6 separate regions of the Homo sapiens genome follow, and all the other regions are linked to region 4. The links are contacts of gene promoters, found by promoter capture Hi-C in blood cells and fetal thymus (Javierre and others, 2016). All regions are on one chromosome and are shown on one strand. Each heading gives the region's core, a stretch centred on a gene start or on the middle of the fragment in contact. The rest is flanking DNA. Distances are from core to core; before and after follow the strand shown. Region 1 overlaps LINC01695 (long intergenic non-protein coding RNA 1695). Region 2 has its middle 49 kb from the start of LINC01695. Region 3 has its middle 1.5 kb from the start of LINC01695. Region 4 holds the start of ADAMTS1 (ADAM metallopeptidase with thrombospondin type 1 motif 1). Region 5 overlaps LINC01697 (long intergenic non-protein coding RNA 1697). Region 6 has its middle 86 kb from the start of LINC01695.

Region 1 (3,064 bases), core at 503-3,002, 1.3 Mb before region 4:
CTTAGATGTAATAGTATTTGTATTATGAATCCATGTGCTCCAGGGTTGGGTGCTTATCTATTTAAGATGGTTGAATCTGCTTGTTGTTTTCAATGTTTTATTATTATATAATGCCCTTCTCTCCTAGAAATGCCTACACATCATAGGTTTGGTCACTTTACATAATCCCATATTTCTCAAAGTCTTTGTTCATTTAATTAAATTCAATTTTCTTTACTTTTGTCTGACTGGGTTAATTCAAAAGACTGGTCTTTAAGCTCTTCATTTCTTTCTTCTGCTTGTTCTAATCTGTTGTTAAAGTTTTCAATTGTAAGTTGAAATTTCTTCACTGAATTTTTCATTTCTAGAGGTTCTGTTTTTTTTTTCTTTTTTTTAACCTATATCTATCACATCTTTCATATCCTAAATTGCCTTTTTGGTTTATTTCTGTTGGTTTTCAACTTTCTCTTGGATTTCACTGAGCTTCCTTACAATTCACATTTTGAATTCTTTATCTGCCATTTTAGAAGTTTCATTTTGGTTAGAATCCATTGCCATAGAGCTAGCATAGTTCCCTGGGGGTGTTGAAATACTCTGTCTTTTTGTATTGTCAAGAGTTTTTGTGCTGATTTCTTCTCATCTGAAGAAGCTGTCACTTCTTATTTTTGGAATTGCTATCATTTAATTGGGACTTTAAAAAAAATGTTTCTCCCTTGAGGGGCTGACTGTAATGTATGTTGTATGTGATCATTTGGCTTTGTTTCTGGGTGCTTTCAGGGGACCAAGGCTCTGTGTGGGTTCATTTGTTATAGATAGCTTTTGCCTCATGGCTTCCTCAAATTCTACTTGTTGTAGCTATGTACTGGGTGGATGAGCTGACTCACTATCTTCTGTGGGGCTGGGAATGCAGGTGTCTCAGGAAGCTTCTTTTGTACCCTGGTACTGTGGCCTTCTGTCAGCAAGGTTTTTATTTGGTATTGCAGTTTGGTCTCCAGTCCAGTAGGTGGTGATTTAAGAGCAAGGGTTAGCTTGCCATCGGGAACACTGATGATGAGTGGAAGCACCCACCCCGACAGGATAGCAGAGGAAGTTCTTGGTGGGAGGCACTGAGGTCTGGGGTGAGAGAGAAGGGGCTGTCTCAGCTCTTTGTCCTGAGCAGGAAGAAACATGATTTAGTTCACTATCAGGCCCCTGTTAGTGAATAGGGCTCATGAACTTCAGTTTAGATATACCCTGTCCTTTCTCTCTGGGCCTCAATGCATCTGAGGTCTGTGGGAAATGCCCCTCTTGTGGCTACCTCTGACATGGACTCAGGGCAGAACACCTTCCCCCCAATCCAAAAAAAAAGGAGCTCTGAAGCTGCCCTCGATGGCAGGAATGCTGCCACTTGGTGTAGGGAGCAGGAGATTATCCTACACTTCCTGACACCCAGGACCACAAGCACACTTTCAACCTGGGTGCAGCAGCCATGAATAGCACTGGAAAGGCTGTCTCTAAGCGCACTTGTGCCAGCCCCCAGCAGGAAAGGCCTCAGCTGTGTCTGCAGCAGTGTGAGGGAGTAAGAGGTGGTACCCTCTCCATGTCTGCTCCCAGCCACTAGTGCTGCTTGTCTGCTGGTGATATGGTTTGCCTCTGTGTCCCCACCCAAATATCACCTTGAATTGTAATAACCCCACGTGTTGTGGGAGGGACCTGGCTGGAGGTAATTGAATCATGGAAGTGTGTTTTTCCCATGCTGTTCTTGTGATAGTGAATAAGTCTTATGAGATCTGATGGTTTTATAAAGGGGAGTTCCCCTGCACATGTTCTCCTGCCTACCTCCATGTAAGACGTGACTTTGTTCCTCATTCACCTTCTGCCATGATTGTGGAGCATCCCCAGCCATGTGGAACTGTGAGTCAAATTAAACCAGTTTCCTTCATAAATCACCCAGTCTCAGGCATGTCTTTATTAGCAGTGTGAGAACAAACTAGTACAGCTGGGACAGAACAATGCTTCCCCTCTTGGGAGAACTGCACTATGCTGTGATTCCTTTATCCCAAGGGGGATTTGGTGAGGCACGCTCCCCTCCCCTAGGGGCTGTCCATCCTAAGGGCTAGATCTCCAGGGAATCACTGGTCCCCCATGACTGCCAAAGCCAGAGCAGATTCTGGAGAACATTTGTGGGGCATCTGGGGATAAGGCAACCCTGAGATTCCCCAGGTAGTTGTCCTTGATGGAGGCACAACCAGTACAGTGTCTGCTGCCTCAATTTGGGTATGACGGAGTGCTAGTGCACTTGCAGGAGCTGGTCACCTGGTGCTCTGCCCCCAGGAAGCTCGCAAATTGTCAAGGACAGTAGTCCTTGAGTCCTGGGCTCAAGAGGGCAGAGAGGCTCCTGGACAATTCAGTGGTCAGCAGTTTGTTGCAGGGGAGAGGAGAGAAAAGAATACCCACCCCTATCCTTTGCATGGGACTCCAGGTTCCCTGGAGTCCAATCTCTGCCAGATTCTTGCTGCCTTCCCTTTCTGCACTCCAGCTTCTTCCCATGGGTTGTCTGACAGGTTTCAGCACTCTTTCCTCAGCTTTCCACTCCTGGAATGACCATTCACTTATAATTTTGATCTTTCTGAGGGAAGCTTGCATCTTTTGTCTCTAGTTGGCCATCATTTCCCTGCTTCCAGTACCACATTGTCTTGATTACTGTAGATTTGCAGTAAGATTTGAAAGTAAAAAGTAGAAGCCCTCCAACTTTGTTCTCCTTTTTCAAGATTGTTTTGGCTACCTGTTGGTCACAGGGTGACAGACGCTGTGGTGGAGTTATCTTGATCTCCTGCAACAGAGCACATGGAGCAGTGAAAAATGGACCACTGTTCATTTTCTTGATGATATTCTTTTGCAACTCGAAAGTTCAATTTTCATAAAGTTCAAATTATCATTTTTTCTTTTTTTTACCTCAAATCATGATGTATGCCTATGTTTCCTTTCAAGAATTTTATAGCTTTTATATTTAGATTTCATCCACTTGAAATATAAGGAAGCTGACCAAATTCATTCTTTTGCATGTAGATACCTTTTGCTGAAATGTCTGTTATTCTCCCCATTG
Region 2 (2,904 bases), core at 59-2,558, 1.4 Mb before region 4:
CAGCTCCCAGTTGTGCAATGAAACCTTAAGCTGACTCTTCCAAAAAAGATACGGAAGTAAAACAAAACTGGAATCTGACTTGTTATGATTGCAGTTTGGAGAATGGTTTAAAGAGAGGGTATAGTACCTTTAGGATATTTTGGATTCAGGGATTTGTTTATGAATTGTATTTCGACAATATATTCTGATTTCCTAACCAAACTCCTTGAAAACAAGGGCTATGGATTGGATTCTTCACTCACTCCAAGCCCCAGTAAAATCTGAGAAAGTATCTCAGATATTGTATATCTTAATTGTATATTGTATATCTTAATTGTATATTGTACATTTTAATATCTCTGATATTATATACATTATTAAGTCAAAATAAGGCAAATATTTTTATTAATAAAAATGCTGATATGTACAAATATATTTTTGTTGAAACATTTATCTCTCTTAAAATATTTTATTTAACTCAGAAATAAATAGATTATATTGAGGACTTAAAAATTTTATTTTATTTTAGGCTCAGGGGCTACATGTGCTTGTTTCTTACATGGGTATTACATGGGTAATTGTGGGGAACGCAATTCTAGTGTGCCCATCACCCAAGTATTAAACATTGTACCAAATAGGCAATTTTTCAATCCTCACTCACCTCTTATTGTCTACGCTTTTGGAGTTCCCAGTGTCTATTATCTCCATCTTGATGTTCATGTCTGCCCATTGCTAAGCTTCTACTTATTAGGGAGAATACATGATATTTGATCTTCTGCTTCTGAGTTAGTTTACTCAGGATAATGACCTCTAGCTCCATTCATGCTGCTGCAAAGGATATGATCTTATTGTTTATTATGGCTGTATGATATTCCATTATCCAAGCAACCATTGATGGGCACTTAGGGTGGTTCCATGACTTCTCTATTGTGAATAGTGCTGCAATAAACATCCAAATGCAGGTGTCTTTTTTTATATAATGCTTTCTTTTTCTTTGGGGAGATGCCAAGTAATGTAATTGCTGGTGGAATGGTAGTTCTATTTTTAGTGCTTTGCGATTTCTCTATACTGTGTTTCATAGGGGTTGAACTAATTTACATTCCTACCAACCATTTTTAAAACTAGAATTTGGCAATAAAAATAAAACAATGATTATTAAACAACATTTAGTAGAAAAAATAATTCTTAAGTTGGTGTAAATTTGAGGCTAACCATGAGCTAACAGAGTTTAAGTAAGCTTTCAGAGTTTTGTGTACATACAAAAAGATATATTGTGCAACAAGTCATACAGAATTAGAAAATCAATTTTTATCTGCTTAGGAGGTAAGCCAACCATAGAGAAGACATTGAAAAAGACTTGAATAGTGATCAAATTTGAGTCCACAGTAAAAGGATATATGTCTGGTGAGAATTTAAGCTTAACAAAATTGGATGAACAGTTTTTCTCTCGGTACTTAGAAACAGGTAGCAGTTTTTCAGTCATATAGATTTATCTGGTTCATTTTTTTCACCATTATTGGCAGCATGTTAAAAATGCCTAATTCCTGTTAAGTAGGTTGAGACACTTCCATTTTACAAGTGTGGATTTATCTATTTTCTGAGTGACTTTCCTGCTACTAAGATGGGAGAAATGACAAAACTCAGTGTCAGAGATGCCTGGGTTTCAGCTGACCCTCACTGAGAAAATGAGATCATTGAGAAAATTCCTTAATCCTTCTGTATTAAGGAATTAATTTCCTATTGTTGCTGTAACAAATTACTATAAACTTTGAAATATAAAACAATACAAATTCATTGTATTATGTTTGTGGAGGTCAGAGCCCTAAAATCCAGATATTGTCAGGGCTGCATTGCTTTTGAAGGCACCAGGGCAACATCTGTTCCCTTGCCTTTTCCAGCTTCTGGAGGCCACCTACATTCCTTGGCTCACAGCCCCACTCTCTGTCTTCAAGATCAGCAGCATAGCAACTTTAACTCTCTCTTACTCTTTCTCTCTGAACTCTGCTCCTCTCTTCACATCTTCTTCCTCCTCTCATTACCTTATAAGGGATTTTGTGATAACATTGGCACACCTGGATAATTCAAAATAACTTTTCTATCTCAAGACCCTTAACTTAAATCATGCCTGCAATATCCATTTTGCCATGTAAAGTAATATATTCACAAATTCTGCTGATCAGGACAGGCATGTCTTTGAGAGAACATTATTCTGTGTACTATACACTCTAAGTCTCATTTTCATCATGTATAAAATGGGAGTCATAATTAGTGCCTCAGTCTAGCATTGAAATAAGCTCTTAACATACAACCTGGCATATAGAGGGTATTCAATTCCACATAATTATTTTATGAGTCTGTGCGGTGATGCCTTATTTGTTTCGCATTGTCTCAGAATATTTTATTTCTTGCTTTCTTCTTATATGTCTCACTATGTTGAATCATCATATTTCAGGCTTTTATTTATTCAACAAACAATTATTGACCAAATCAAATGATTGAATGTTTGTATTTCCCTCCTACTCCAAATTCATATATTGAAACCCTAATCCCAATGTGATGATATTTAGAGGTGGGGCCTTTGAGAAGTAATTAGGTCTTGAGGGTGCAGCTCTCATGAATGGGTTAGTGCCATTATATGTAGTGCAGAGAGCTAGCTCTCTTTCTGTCATAGGAGGATGCAATGAGAAGTTGGTGATCTGCAACCTGAAAGAGGGCCCTTATCAGAACTCAACCAAGCAGACATTCTGATCTCAGGCTTTCAGCCTCCAGGACTATAATAAATAAATTTATATTGTTCACAGGCCACCCAGTCTATGGTGATCTTTTGTTACAACAAAGTCTGAGCTCAGGTATCCAGTTAGTACCAGTGCTGGATTAGAAGCTAGTGCCCTATGCTGGGTCCCTAAGTTTTCCAAAGCCGAGTTA
Region 3 (2,700 bases), core at 86-2,585, 1.4 Mb before region 4:
ACATGAGGATATAGCCAGAAGCTGGCTGTCTGCAAACCAAGAAGACAGTACTCACCAGAAACCAAATGCGGCAGCACCTGGATCTTCAGAAGTGTGAGAATAAGTCTATAATTTAAGCCACTCAGTCTATGGTATTTTGGTATAGCAGTCCAAACTGGCTAAGACAGATGAAATGCATGTGGCCTCATCTAACTTATTTGTGTGCATGTGTGTTATTTTATTTAAATAAATTACATGTAGTATTTTCATATTGCCCAAAGCTAGAAGGGATAGCTAATTTGTAAGAATATTTAAAAGGATATCCATAGGCTGAAATAAAATTGACTATATGAAAATTAAACTTCAAATGTGAAATCCTATACTATTTTGAAGACATTAGCTATATAAATCCAGGATGTGTAAAGAGGTGGACTAAGGACAGTTTATTTGCAAAAGACAGGTAGATGGCTTTTGATCGATTTCAAACTCCATATAAATTAATAATATGAAGTAGTTACCAGGCATAGAGAAATTGTTTTAACTTTAATTATAAGTTTGTGCAGCAGTAGGGATAAAAATTATCATAATGCCATCAACATTACATAATTCTAATTGTTGCATATTCTCTTCCAAACCCTGGCAACACAAGTAAATAAGTCAAATAGTTTAATCATAATGTATACATCATTGTTTAAATGTAGCTATGTCTATTTAATATCATATAATTAATGTGATTTTAAGCTTCATTTTTTCTAATGTAATGCCCTAGGTAAGGAAAATCATAACAGACTCTTGGGCCATGAATCACCCTAGCATAAAGAAACTTCTGGAGATGAGCTATGAAATGGCATGGAGTTTGGAAAGAAAGGAAATAGACAACATCCTGCCAGGGCAAAAAAGATTAGGGAATCGTGAAAGCTGTTTCTATTAATATCTACTTGAATGATCATTTTGTGAAAGAGAAATTACCAAGTCTTTCAAATTTTTTCTTTTCCCTGTTTCTAGAAAGCATAATAAGGATCAATTGGTTTCAATTCAACAAATTCTCATTGGTCCTCTATTAAATTCCAAGCATTGGGCTTGGTGTTTAGGGCTACATACAGGAGAACACAGATCTGTCTGACTTCATAAATATTACAGACTGGTAGAAAAACAAACTTAAACTCTTTGTCAACTCCTTTTAAAACTTCTAAGGTGAATTTCCAAATATTTCCGTTTTATAATAGTATCTTAATGTATGATTAATGTCTGTTATTTTATATATTTGTCATACATATTTCTGTTTATATAATAAAATACATGTTAGTAAAAATGAGTCTTCAGAAATGTTCACATACATTTATGGAAAAGATATGTTTTAGAGGCAAAGGGAATTTAGCGCACAATTACTACAATTGGCATTAATATTAGGATGTGATAATAGTTCCAAAGGGGTTAGTAAAATTAAAACGTTAGGCACTGATTGATACGTAGGAAAATTGAATTGGGCAATCTAGCCACTAATGACAAAACATGTTTGCAATAAGGATGATTCAGCAAAGAATTTACTCCTGCTTAGTAACAGTTGCAATTTTATCTTTTGAGATATAAATGTGCATATTTGCTTTATAACTGTTGTATGACTCAGAGTTTAGAGTTATCTTTTATCCTTAGCTTTATAAGCAGTGTATCCAATAGCAACATATGTAAGACTTGCGTTTTACATTGTATACATTTTACTTTGCATTACATTTCAGTATGATATCATTACAACAAAACAGAGGTTCAAAAATACAGCATGATCCTATATTAAATACAGACTTCTGGCAGTTTTAAAAATATTAAAGATGTGTAGTTTATTGTTTTAAGAAGTCCTCAAAATGTATTACCTAGTAAATCCTCTTAACTATGTTCTGTCACATCTTCTATTTAAGAAAATTGTTTTTTCAGTTTGTAATCACTCTATACAATATGTTCATTTTATGAAGCTTTGATTAGAAATGTAAGAATTTTATATATTATAATTTAATTGCATTATTCTCATAAAACATTACAAGATTGACATTGCATTACCTCACAATTTGTTTTATAAAATTTTAACCTTTGATCTTTAAATTGATATGCTGAGGGGATTAAATAACATTAACAAACTTGTCATGGATATGAAATTCACTTAGATAAGACAATAAAATATTGTTTTTTTAAATCAACAAAGTAAAATTCTTAGAAAAATAAGCTTTGCTCTTTAAATATATTTCTGAATTGTATTCCTGTCTGATAACTTTATTTACTAGAGTTGTGGATCTGTAAATGCATGATAAAATGCCAGCTAGTTAGCTTAAATTGCCACTATAAAAATGAAGAAGGGATACATGAAGCTACTTTTAAAAAGTCTTTATAAGCATGTTAAAGTATACAGCATTTGCTGGATAACATTCTTCTCATGGTTCTTAAATTCACTACCAACAAAAAAAGTAACAGCCAAAAGTAATTAACCAAAGAAACACAATTTAAAATTATGTAGAGAGTATGAAAAATCACCAGTATTTTACCTTCATTGATACTTACTCTATACTTTGCACTGTATACAAGCATTACCTCATTTAATCCTCACAAGAGCCATTTGAGGTAGCAACCATTATTACCTTCATGTAACTGAGGAATCTTAGGTTAAGTATTTAGCTGAATGTCAAGCAGTTAGAAAGTGTTATTAACAGATAGGTCCTTTAGCCCCTAGAGAAT
Region 4 (2,923 bases), core at 148-2,647:
AGGGACGCTTCTGGCTGGGGCCAACTGAAGTGGGGAAGATCTGGGGAGGAGCGAGGAAAGGACCCAGATCTACTTGGAGCCAACCAAGAGACCGGACGGGAGTGGGGCGGAAAGGCGGAGACCAGTTCGAGCACTAACGCGGGGGCGCGCGAGTGTGAGGGTTGCGGGTCCGCCCGGGGCTAGGGCGGTCGCTCTCGCCATTGTCCCCGCGGCTTTCCGCCTGTGAAACACGTCCTTCCTCTGGGTCCTTGAGCCCCTCCCACTTTTTGGAGAGAAGAGCCACTCAGTTTTTTTTCCTAAGGACCTGTTGGTGGACCTCTCCTCGCTTTCGTAACGCGGATATAGCCTTTTCCCTTCCTGGTAGGAAGAGGAAGGAGGGGTCCGGGAAGGAAGCCGATTTCCTTCTTTCCCCCTCTGCACGCTTGCTAGCCCCAGCGATCGCTGCTGGCCCCCGGGTAGGAAAGTGGGGTTCCTGGCCGTTTCTGCGACGCTGGCCTAGGGCTTGCAGCTGCTGTTGAGTGAAAGCACGCAGACTGGCGGGAGCCGATCATTTCTCGAATGAAGAAGAAAAAGCGCAATTCCCTCCTTATGCTCTAGGGAATTGAGCCGCGTCCCAGATCACCCATTCCAGAAATGTGAAACCGGGCCCTCACAAAGTCGTCTCTGGTGAAGAGGTGGCGTGCGGGGTGGGGGTTGGTGGAGGGTGAAGGCATAAGCAAACATATTTTAAAATCCAGATCGTAGGAAGTGTCACCTGGCCCCTCACCCAGGCATGCTTTCTGGGGGAAGCGCAGGGCCAAGCTTTCCCTAGAAAAGCTGGGGCGAAGAGAGAGCAGGCGGCGGCTAAGGAGCTCCTGGCAGGCTGGGAAGGTGGAGAAGTGGGGTGAGGTATTTTTCTAGAAAGTGTAGCCCTAGCTCATCTCCTAGATTGGGGAAGAGGGAACTGAGGGAGGAGGGAAGGAGACCCAGGGCAGCTCCAGGATAGGGAAATGTTGAAGAAGGGACTGCGTTCTCCAACCGAACCCTCCCTCCTGGGAACCGCAGCCCAGCGCGGTAACTGAGTTACCGCAACCGGGCGGTGGGGAGGAAGGGTGGTCCAGGAAACCGGCGAGGGAGAAAAGCGGTGGAAGGGAGAGTCTTCTCCCTGGAGCGGCCCCAGCAGTACAAAGTGCTGGTCACAGCGCCCCTTCCGCCCCTAGATTGACGAGCAGTGGCGTGGAGCCAGCGCGGAGGCTGCCCCCTCCCCCTCCCGAGCCCGCAGCGCGGAGCGCGGTTTAGCACCAACGGAGCCGGGGGCGGCGTCTTTGGGATGGAAAAGGGCCAAAGGGGAGGAGTGGGGTGGGGGTGGGGGTTTCACTGGTCCACTATAAAAGGACCGCTCGGCTGCCCGGTTCTTGCACTCGCTGGAAAGCGGCTCCGAGCCAGGGGCTATTGCAAAGCCAGGGTGCGCTACCGGACGGAGAGGGGAGAGCCCTGAGCAGAGTGAGCAACATCGCAGCCAAGGCGGAGGCCGAAGAGGGGCGCCAGGCACCAATCTCCGCGTTGCCTCAGCCCCGGAGGCGCCCCAGAGCGCTTCTTGTCCCAGCAGAGCCACTCTGCCTGCGCCTGCCTCTCAGTGTCTCCAACTTTGCGCTGGAAGAAAAACTTCCCGCGCGCCGGCAGAACTGCAGCGCCTCCTTTTAGTGACTCCGGGAGCTTCGGCTGTAGCCGGCTCTGCGCGCCCTTCCAACGAATAATAGAAATTGTTAATTTTAACAATCCAGAGCAGGCCAACGAGGCTTTGCTCTCCCGACCCGAACTAAAGGTCCCTCGCTCCGTGCGCTGCTACGAGCGGTGTCTCCTGGGGCTCCAATGCAGCGAGCTGTGCCCGAGGGGTTCGGAAGGCGCAAGCTGGGCAGCGACATGGGGAACGCGGAGCGGGCTCCGGGGTCTCGGAGCTTTGGGCCAGTACCCACGCTGCTGCTGCTCGCCGCGGCGCTACTGGCCGTGTCGGACGCACTCGGGCGCCCCTCCGAGGAGGACGAGGAGCTAGTGGTGCCGGAGCTGGAGCGCGCCCCGGGACACGGGACCACGCGCCTCCGCCTGCACGCCTTTGACCAGCAGCTGGATCTGGAGCTGCGGCCCGACAGCAGCTTTTTGGCGCCCGGCTTCACGCTCCAGAACGTGGGGCGCAAATCCGGGTCCGAGACGCCGCTTCCGGAAACCGACCTGGCGCACTGCTTCTACTCCGGCACCGTGAATGGCGATCCCAGCTCGGCTGCCGCCCTCAGCCTCTGCGAGGGCGTGCGCGGCGCCTTCTACCTGCTGGGGGAGGCGTATTTCATCCAGCCGCTGCCCGCCGCCAGCGAGCGCCTCGCCACCGCCGCCCCAGGGGAGAAGCCGCCGGCACCACTACAGTTCCACCTCCTGCGGCGGAATCGGCAGGGCGACGTCGGCGGCACGTGCGGGGTCGTGGACGACGAGCCCCGGCCGACTGGGAAAGCGGAGACCGAAGACGAGGACGAAGGGACTGAGGGCGAGGACGAAGGGGCTCAGTGGTCGCCGCAGGACCCGGCACTGCAAGGCGTAGGACAGCCCACAGGTAGAAGAATTGCTCTCGTTTGTCTGTCCATTCATCCTCCTCTCCTCACTTTATCTATCCCACGCGACTTCAGGGTAGACTCCTGCTGGCAGGCAGGATCATAAGTCCGCGGACAGAACGGAGGCCTGGAGTGGAGGAATGTGGTTTGAGGTTTGGATTGGTGAACTCAGCTAGAAAACATACTTGCATTTGCCCGAATAATGAATAACCAAGAAAAAAACTGACAAACGATTTTCTGCAAACTAAAGCAAAGCATTTAGGCCGGGGAGGGAGAGTTTGTAACCTGACTCCTTCCACCTTTAGCGAGTTGGAGCTTGTGCGAGTTCTTTCCACTCTGTGTAT
Region 5 (3,028 bases), core at 490-2,989, 1.2 Mb before region 4:
CAAACTCCTGGGCTCAAGTGATTTGCCCACCTCACCTTCCCAAAGTGCTGGGATTACAGGTGTGAGCCACTGAACCCAGCCCATAATCAATTTTCAAAGGAGACTCAGGTTTCAGTCTGACTGTGAGCATATTTACTGCTAGTAGCATCTTTCCTCAATTTACCTGCTGTTCATAAAGTTGTAAAGTTATCTTTTCACATATAAAATAAATCATATTATTATGTGTTTCTATGTAATAACTGTCAAATATTAGCTGGAACATAAATTAAACAAGTGTTTTTGAATACTTTATACTATGACTGGCATAAGGATAACCCATTGGCTTTTGGCTATTTTATATTCTTCTCAATACGTATTCTGTCTTTTAGAATTCTGCAGCTTGTTCAAAATGTCCTGAACTGCAGGATTTAGAGAGCCAATAATCAAGATCTTAGCATTTTTAAATAGATCAAACTTTTAGAAATAACTTAATGCTGGCTTTGCAGAAAAATATTTGAAATGCTATAAACTATACTCCTAAAAATCTTAACCCAACACAAGATCAATAGTATTTGAACATCATAACGTCAATTTATATTTTCTGCAAAGGAATACACATTTTACAAAATATGCTTCAAATATCTGTTAATACATTTCACTGCCAGAATTTTTATTCTGTAGAATACTTTTCATTGCATATTTTACTTCTTAAAAATATTATGCACGATGTATACAAGTAGAATAAAGTAAGCGTTCAGGACCAAAAGTCATTTTATCATTACCAACTAATCTAGAATGTCTGATTCGCGATGCCAAAAATGTTATGCCCACAGTTGCTACTAGACTAAGCAGAATTTAAGAAAAACTAATTAGCTACAGAATGAATCTATGAAACGTTAAGTCAAGTTATCAAAAATCTCTCATTCTTCATGCATTTGTACTGCTTATTTTATATGCCATTAGTGTCAAGAAATGTAGTCCGTATGAATTACTTTTATACAGTAACTTTAGTAAGGGCTTTAAACAATTTAGATATTTTATATGAAACAGACCATTTAAGAAAACTCTCACTTAACAAAGTGAGTCTTAATATAAAGAACAGTATCAGATAGTTTGTCTTAAGCAAAAATAGAGCAATTTACCAGTTGAACCAAACTTATCATTTCACTCAGCTCATAGTAAATATTTTAGTAAAGCTTAAACTAAAAACATTTGAAAGGACATATGCACAAAAAAGTAATGATCATTAACAATGGAATCATTCATATTGAAGGCATTTTTTAATTTTTTCTCTTAAATTTGATATAGACCTAAACTACTAACTAGAGATTTTTGTAATAGGTATGGATTTAATGTGTTTAGAAACAATATAACCAAGTAAAGTTTTAATTTATTTATTCATAAATTAGTAGGATTGAAAGGATATGAAAAACTATTCATACTGAACTGTTTATGATAATAGGAGTGGCGTGTGAAGGCAGAGGAATTGTTGGTTTCTATCTTGGTATTTATAATTGCTATTTTAAATAGGGATATTATGTTTATATGTTATATAATAATTTAAGCATATGGTATTTAAAAACAATGAACATTAAATACACAAATTACATTTTTCATTGTCCCCCTATTTATTAACCTGGGACAGAGTGTGATGATAAGAAAAGGAAGGATCTGGGCAGCTGTCATAGATGTCCCAGGCCACTCCTTGCTTTTCTGGAAGTGGCTTGTGTTTACTTGTACCCTTGTACTTATCAGTGAAGTTTGACATGGGATAACAGCACTAATCCATGTGAGTCTGCCTTGACAATTTGACCTTTTTATGTTCACAAAAATAACAGGTAATTCTCCAAAGAGTAAATTTAAATTAGCACAGGGAGAAAAATCAGTTCGCTAATGAGAAGAGAAAAATCCAATAAGCACACGTGATAAACCATTTCCCTCAAAATTTAAAAAGGTAACTGTACCAGGTGAAGATACAGATGTAGAAAAGAAAAAAGAAATAAATTCCCATATCTGATGGGAATATAAATCAGTATCAACATAAGAGAAAGCAGTTTGGCAACACAAATCTAGGGAAAAATCCACTAACCCAAAAAGTAAAAAATTACATGTGTATGTGTGTGTAGGTATGTAGCCTAGTGAATCCACTGCACTTTTATATAAAGACTTGTATATAAAGCAAATATTTTCACTGTAGCACTTTTTGCTATGAGGCAAAATTAGAAATGACCATCAGTCAAAAATTAGATAGACAAATTTTGGCGTTTTCATACAATAGAATACTGGAATTTAGCAGTTGTTTAACCATACCTGAGCAAAGCTTTATGAATCAACATGAATCAATTATTACAAATAAAGATGAAAAACAAGAAGTTTCTAAAAATACGTATATATTTTGTCAGTGCAATACAAGATAGTGTTTTTGTATTAGATATTTATGTAGTGTGTGAAATAACAAAAATGGTAGTACTGAACACCAAGTTTAGAAAATTAGTTAACTCTGGGATATGAGGAAGAGAAATAAAATTGGTGAAAATAAATTTAAATACATAGGATCTTCAAAACTTCATGGAAAATATGTATTATCAAAAATACTATGTGTGCTGAGATTCAGGGGATCACGATGGACAGGAGGCAGGACTAGATTGAAGCTCCAGGCAGAGCAACCTACGGAGGCTTGCACTGTGAATTTTAGCTCCAGATCAACTTCAAGAATAAAGTAGCAATCCCAAGAAGACCCACAGCCCCTCTGAAGGAAGCGGACTGCTCCTGCAGGACCCGGGAGACACCCCAAATACTATGAGTGTCCCAACTGTGCAAGTGGGAAAGGGAGTGTCCCGAACACACACCCCCACTGGAGAAGCTGAAGGTGTTTGTGGGAGAAGTTTCCGACTTTACCTGGAGCTGAGTCAAGTCAGAGAGCTGAGCGAAATACAGGGGTACAGGAAGCAGCAGAAAGGCCCTCGGAGCTCACTGGGTCCCCAAGCAGCCCATTCCTGCCTGGCAACACAAAGATCCATCCGGAGGGCGGCCAGAGGAGCAGGGGGTA
Region 6 (3,011 bases), core at 389-2,888, 1.5 Mb before region 4:
TGCTACATCTTCTAGATAGTATTATTTTCCACAGAAATTCTATTTCAAAAAATCTATGATACCACTAATACATATTAGAAAGATGTAACCATTTTACAATTAGTATTTTTATAATATAGAAAATTGTTCTCCTCACTTTTTATAGTCACAGTCACATAATGGTGTGTAACTGATGACAATAAATAACATTTTTGCTGCTTTCCAAGGATGTTTTCTGTACAAATTGTAAGAAAAATAGTCCAGAGAAAAAAGAATTTGATCCGTGTACTGTCACAATGTGCAGAAACGTAATAGAATTCTATAAATATTTTATCTCAAAGTATTTTGTAATTTTCCTTATCATGTCTTCTTTGACCCATTGGCTAGGAGCATGTTGTTTAATTTCTACATATTTGTAAATTCCCAAAATTCCTTTTGTTATCCCTTTATAATTTAATTTCTTTAATGTTGAAGAACATACTTTGTATATTTTCAACTTTTTAATTTTTTGTGGTTTTAATGAAGTAATATATAGTTTATCTTAGAGAATATTACCTGTGTACTTTAGAAGAATGTGGATTCTTCTGCTGTGTGTAGAGTGTTCCATAAAAATCTGTTAGCTCTAGTTGGCTTATAGATTTGTTAAATCTCCTTTAATTCCTTGTTGAAATTCTTCTTAGCTTATTTTTATTCATTATTGCAATCGAGGCTATAGAAGTGTCCCATTATTCTTTTTGACATGGCTATGTCTCCCTGTAGTATTGTCAGTTTTGGCTCCACGTATTTTGGGACTCTCTTGTTAGATGCATATATGTTTATAATTGTTATGTCTTCCTGAATGGTTGACCCTTTTATCATTATAAAACATAGTTCTATTTTTTCTAATAATAATATTTTTCTTAAAGTCTATTTTGCTTGATATTAGTATCACCATTTCAGTTGTCTTTTGATTGCTATTTTTATGATATAATTTTTCCATCTTTTTAACTTTCCACCTACCTATTTTTGAATCTTGAGTGTATTTCTTACAGACAACATATAGTTGGATCAGATTTCTAATTCATTCTGCCAATCTCTGCCACTTGTTTGAGAGTTTAGTATACTTTTGTTTAATGCAATATAGATAAAGTTGGATTTATATCTGCATATATATATATATACACACATATATATATATATCTATATATAGGTAGGTGCCTATTTTGGATTTATTTGGTGCCTAGTTGGATTTATATCATGCATATACATGTATGTGTATATATATATATATATATGCAGGTGCCTATTTTTAGGCCTAAAAAATCACATATATGATTTTGGCCTGGAGCTGGACTCCTTATGTTCATGTGGATTTGAGTTGTTGACTAGTTTCCTTTCATTTGATTCTGAAGGACTTGCTTCAGTATTTCATGTAGTATAGGTCTATTAGTGATGTATTTCTTCTTTAATTTATTTATTTTTGGTCTTGGGATATATATATGTATATAAATATATATTTAAACATATAACATATATATAATGTTTTTTGTTCCTCCATTACTCAATTACTGCTTTGTTTGTGTTAACTATATATTTGTATTACACTATTTTAATTCCTTTTGTTACTTTTGTTATATTTTTTTGCATTATTTTCTTAATGGTTGCCCTGGGCTTAAAATTTACATCTTAACTAAGACAATGTATTTTAAATTACTGTCAATTTTAAATTAATGTCAACAATCTATTTTAAATTAATGCATACCAACTTTCAGTGGTATACAAAAATTTTACTGTAATATAGCTTTGTTCCCTTACAATTCTTCTTGCTATTGTTTTCATATGAATTACACCTTTATGCATTAAGGCCAATGAACACATATTCATGATTATTGCTTTATGTATTTGCCCTTTAAATCAGATAGGGAAAGAAAAGTGTTAGAAACAAAAAATACATTTATTACATCTGTTATATTTACCTGTGTAGTTACTTTTACTAGTGCTCCGTTTTTTTTTGTTTTTTTGTTTTTTTTTTTTCTTTTGAGATAGGGTCTGATTCTGTCACCCAGGCTGGAGTGCAATGGCACAATCTCAGCTCACTACAACTTCCACCTCCCAGGTTCAAGCGATTCTCCTGCCTCAGCCTCCCGAGCAGCTGAGACTACAGGTGCACATCACCACGCCTGACTAATTTTTGTATTTTTATTAGAGACGGGGTTTCACCATATTGGCCAGGCTGGTCTTGAGCTCCTGACCTCGTGATCCACCCACCTCATGATCCACCCACCTCGGCCTCTCAAAGTGCTGGGATTACAGGCATGAGCCACTGCACCAGCTAGTGCTCTTTATTCTTTTGAAGAAAGCTGAGCTGCTGGGTGTTGACATTCATTAAGACAATAAACTAAGCTATAAATAATAATTGAGCTGTTTTTCACTTACTGTGATAGTATAAGAGGCTAAATAGCAAAGAGTGCTGGCATGCTGGCTCCCTCAATGTTCTCATTTCCCCCATGGAATGGCAGTGTGTGAGGGTCAAATGTAGCAATACAGATGGAGAAAATATGTAACTGCCAAGAGAGCCTTGAATAAAGGACTTCTGTCATTTTATGACCTGGGGCTAGGGAAAGTGGAAGGGTAAGGGCTAAAATTCAAAGAGTCCTAAGTACTGGGTCAGAGTGGAAAAATTATCTTTGCGATCCCATTATAAAAATATAGAGGTGCTTGAGGAATCTCTCAGCTGAGGCTTCCCAATAAGGAGACTTCCTAATAGAGGTCCTTTGGCTATGAATAAAATGCACATAAGAGCATGACCAGCCAGAGAGGCCTGAGTTCTTGGCTGCAACTTTTGCCAGAGACTTCAATGCACGGTCTGTATGTCAAGTTTGGTGTGGGGAGAGTAGATTTCCCCATGAGGCCTGCCAGGTAAAGCCTTTTCAGGTGCCTATTTCCAGGCCTGAAAAATGTTCATGTGGATTTGAATTACTGTCTAACTTCTTTTCATTTGATTCTGAAGGAGTTGCTTCAGTATTTATGGTAGTATAGGTCTGTTAGTTACA

Evidence for each region. The method cuts DNA at HindIII sites, captures the fragments that hold promoters and counts their contacts. A CHiCAGO score of 5 or more calls a contact.
Region 1: a fragment that was not itself captured here is called in contact with the fragment with the promoter of ADAMTS1 in region 4 in 1 of 17 cell types (endothelial precursors); the score reaches 5.6 in endothelial precursors.
Region 2: a contact is called between a fragment that was not itself captured here and the fragment with the promoter of ADAMTS1 in region 4, in 1 of 17 cell types (M1 macrophages). The highest score is 5.5, in M1 macrophages.
Region 3: a fragment that was not itself captured here is called in contact with the fragment with the promoter of ADAMTS1 in region 4 in 2 of 17 cell types (megakaryocytes and M0 macrophages); the score reaches 7.5 in megakaryocytes.
Region 5: a contact is called between a fragment that was not itself captured here and the fragment with the promoter of ADAMTS1 in region 4, in 2 of 17 cell types (M0 macrophages and M1 macrophages). The highest score is 7.3, in M0 macrophages.
Region 6: a fragment that was not itself captured here is called in contact with the fragment with the promoter of ADAMTS1 in region 4 in 1 of 17 cell types (M1 macrophages); the score reaches 5.2 in M1 macrophages.

Annotation. Positions count from the first base shown.
Region 1 is chr21:28,191,312-28,194,375 of GRCh38, reverse strand. The region is part of intron 3 of LINC01695 (long intergenic non-protein coding RNA 1695); the gene reads left to right. Among named protein-coding and RNA genes, the nearest start is that of LINC01695, 36 kb to the left of the region's middle. The HindIII fragment of the contact is 1,695 bases long and covers 905-2,599 here.
Region 2 is chr21:28,275,881-28,278,784 of GRCh38, reverse strand. No RefSeq gene overlaps it. Among named protein-coding and RNA genes, the nearest start is that of LINC01695, 49 kb to the right of the region's middle. The HindIII fragment of the contact is 180 bases long and covers 1,219-1,398 here.
Region 3 is chr21:28,228,855-28,231,554 of GRCh38, reverse strand. No RefSeq gene overlaps it. Among named protein-coding and RNA genes, the nearest start is that of LINC01695, 1.5 kb to the right of the region's middle. The HindIII fragment of the contact is 1,226 bases long and covers 723-1,948 here.
Region 4 is chr21:26,843,883-26,846,805 of GRCh38, reverse strand. ADAMTS1 (ADAM metallopeptidase with thrombospondin type 1 motif 1) reads left to right here and starts at 1,397. Exons shown (of 9, transcript NM_006988.5): 1 at 1,397-2,581. The coding sequence starts at 1,852. RefSeq lists enhancers at 13-612, 613-1,213. The HindIII fragment of the contact is 3,865 bases long and covers 804-2,923 here.
Region 5 is chr21:28,090,371-28,093,398 of GRCh38, reverse strand. All of the region lies in intron 1 of LINC01697 (long intergenic non-protein coding RNA 1697), which reads right to left. Among named protein-coding and RNA genes, the nearest start is that of LINC01697, 43 kb to the right of the region's middle. The HindIII fragment of the contact is 1,124 bases long and covers 1,178-2,301 here.
Region 6 is chr21:28,313,031-28,316,041 of GRCh38, reverse strand. No RefSeq gene overlaps it. Among named protein-coding and RNA genes, the nearest start is that of LINC01695, 86 kb to the right of the region's middle. The HindIII fragment of the contact is 6,920 bases long and covers 1-3,011 here.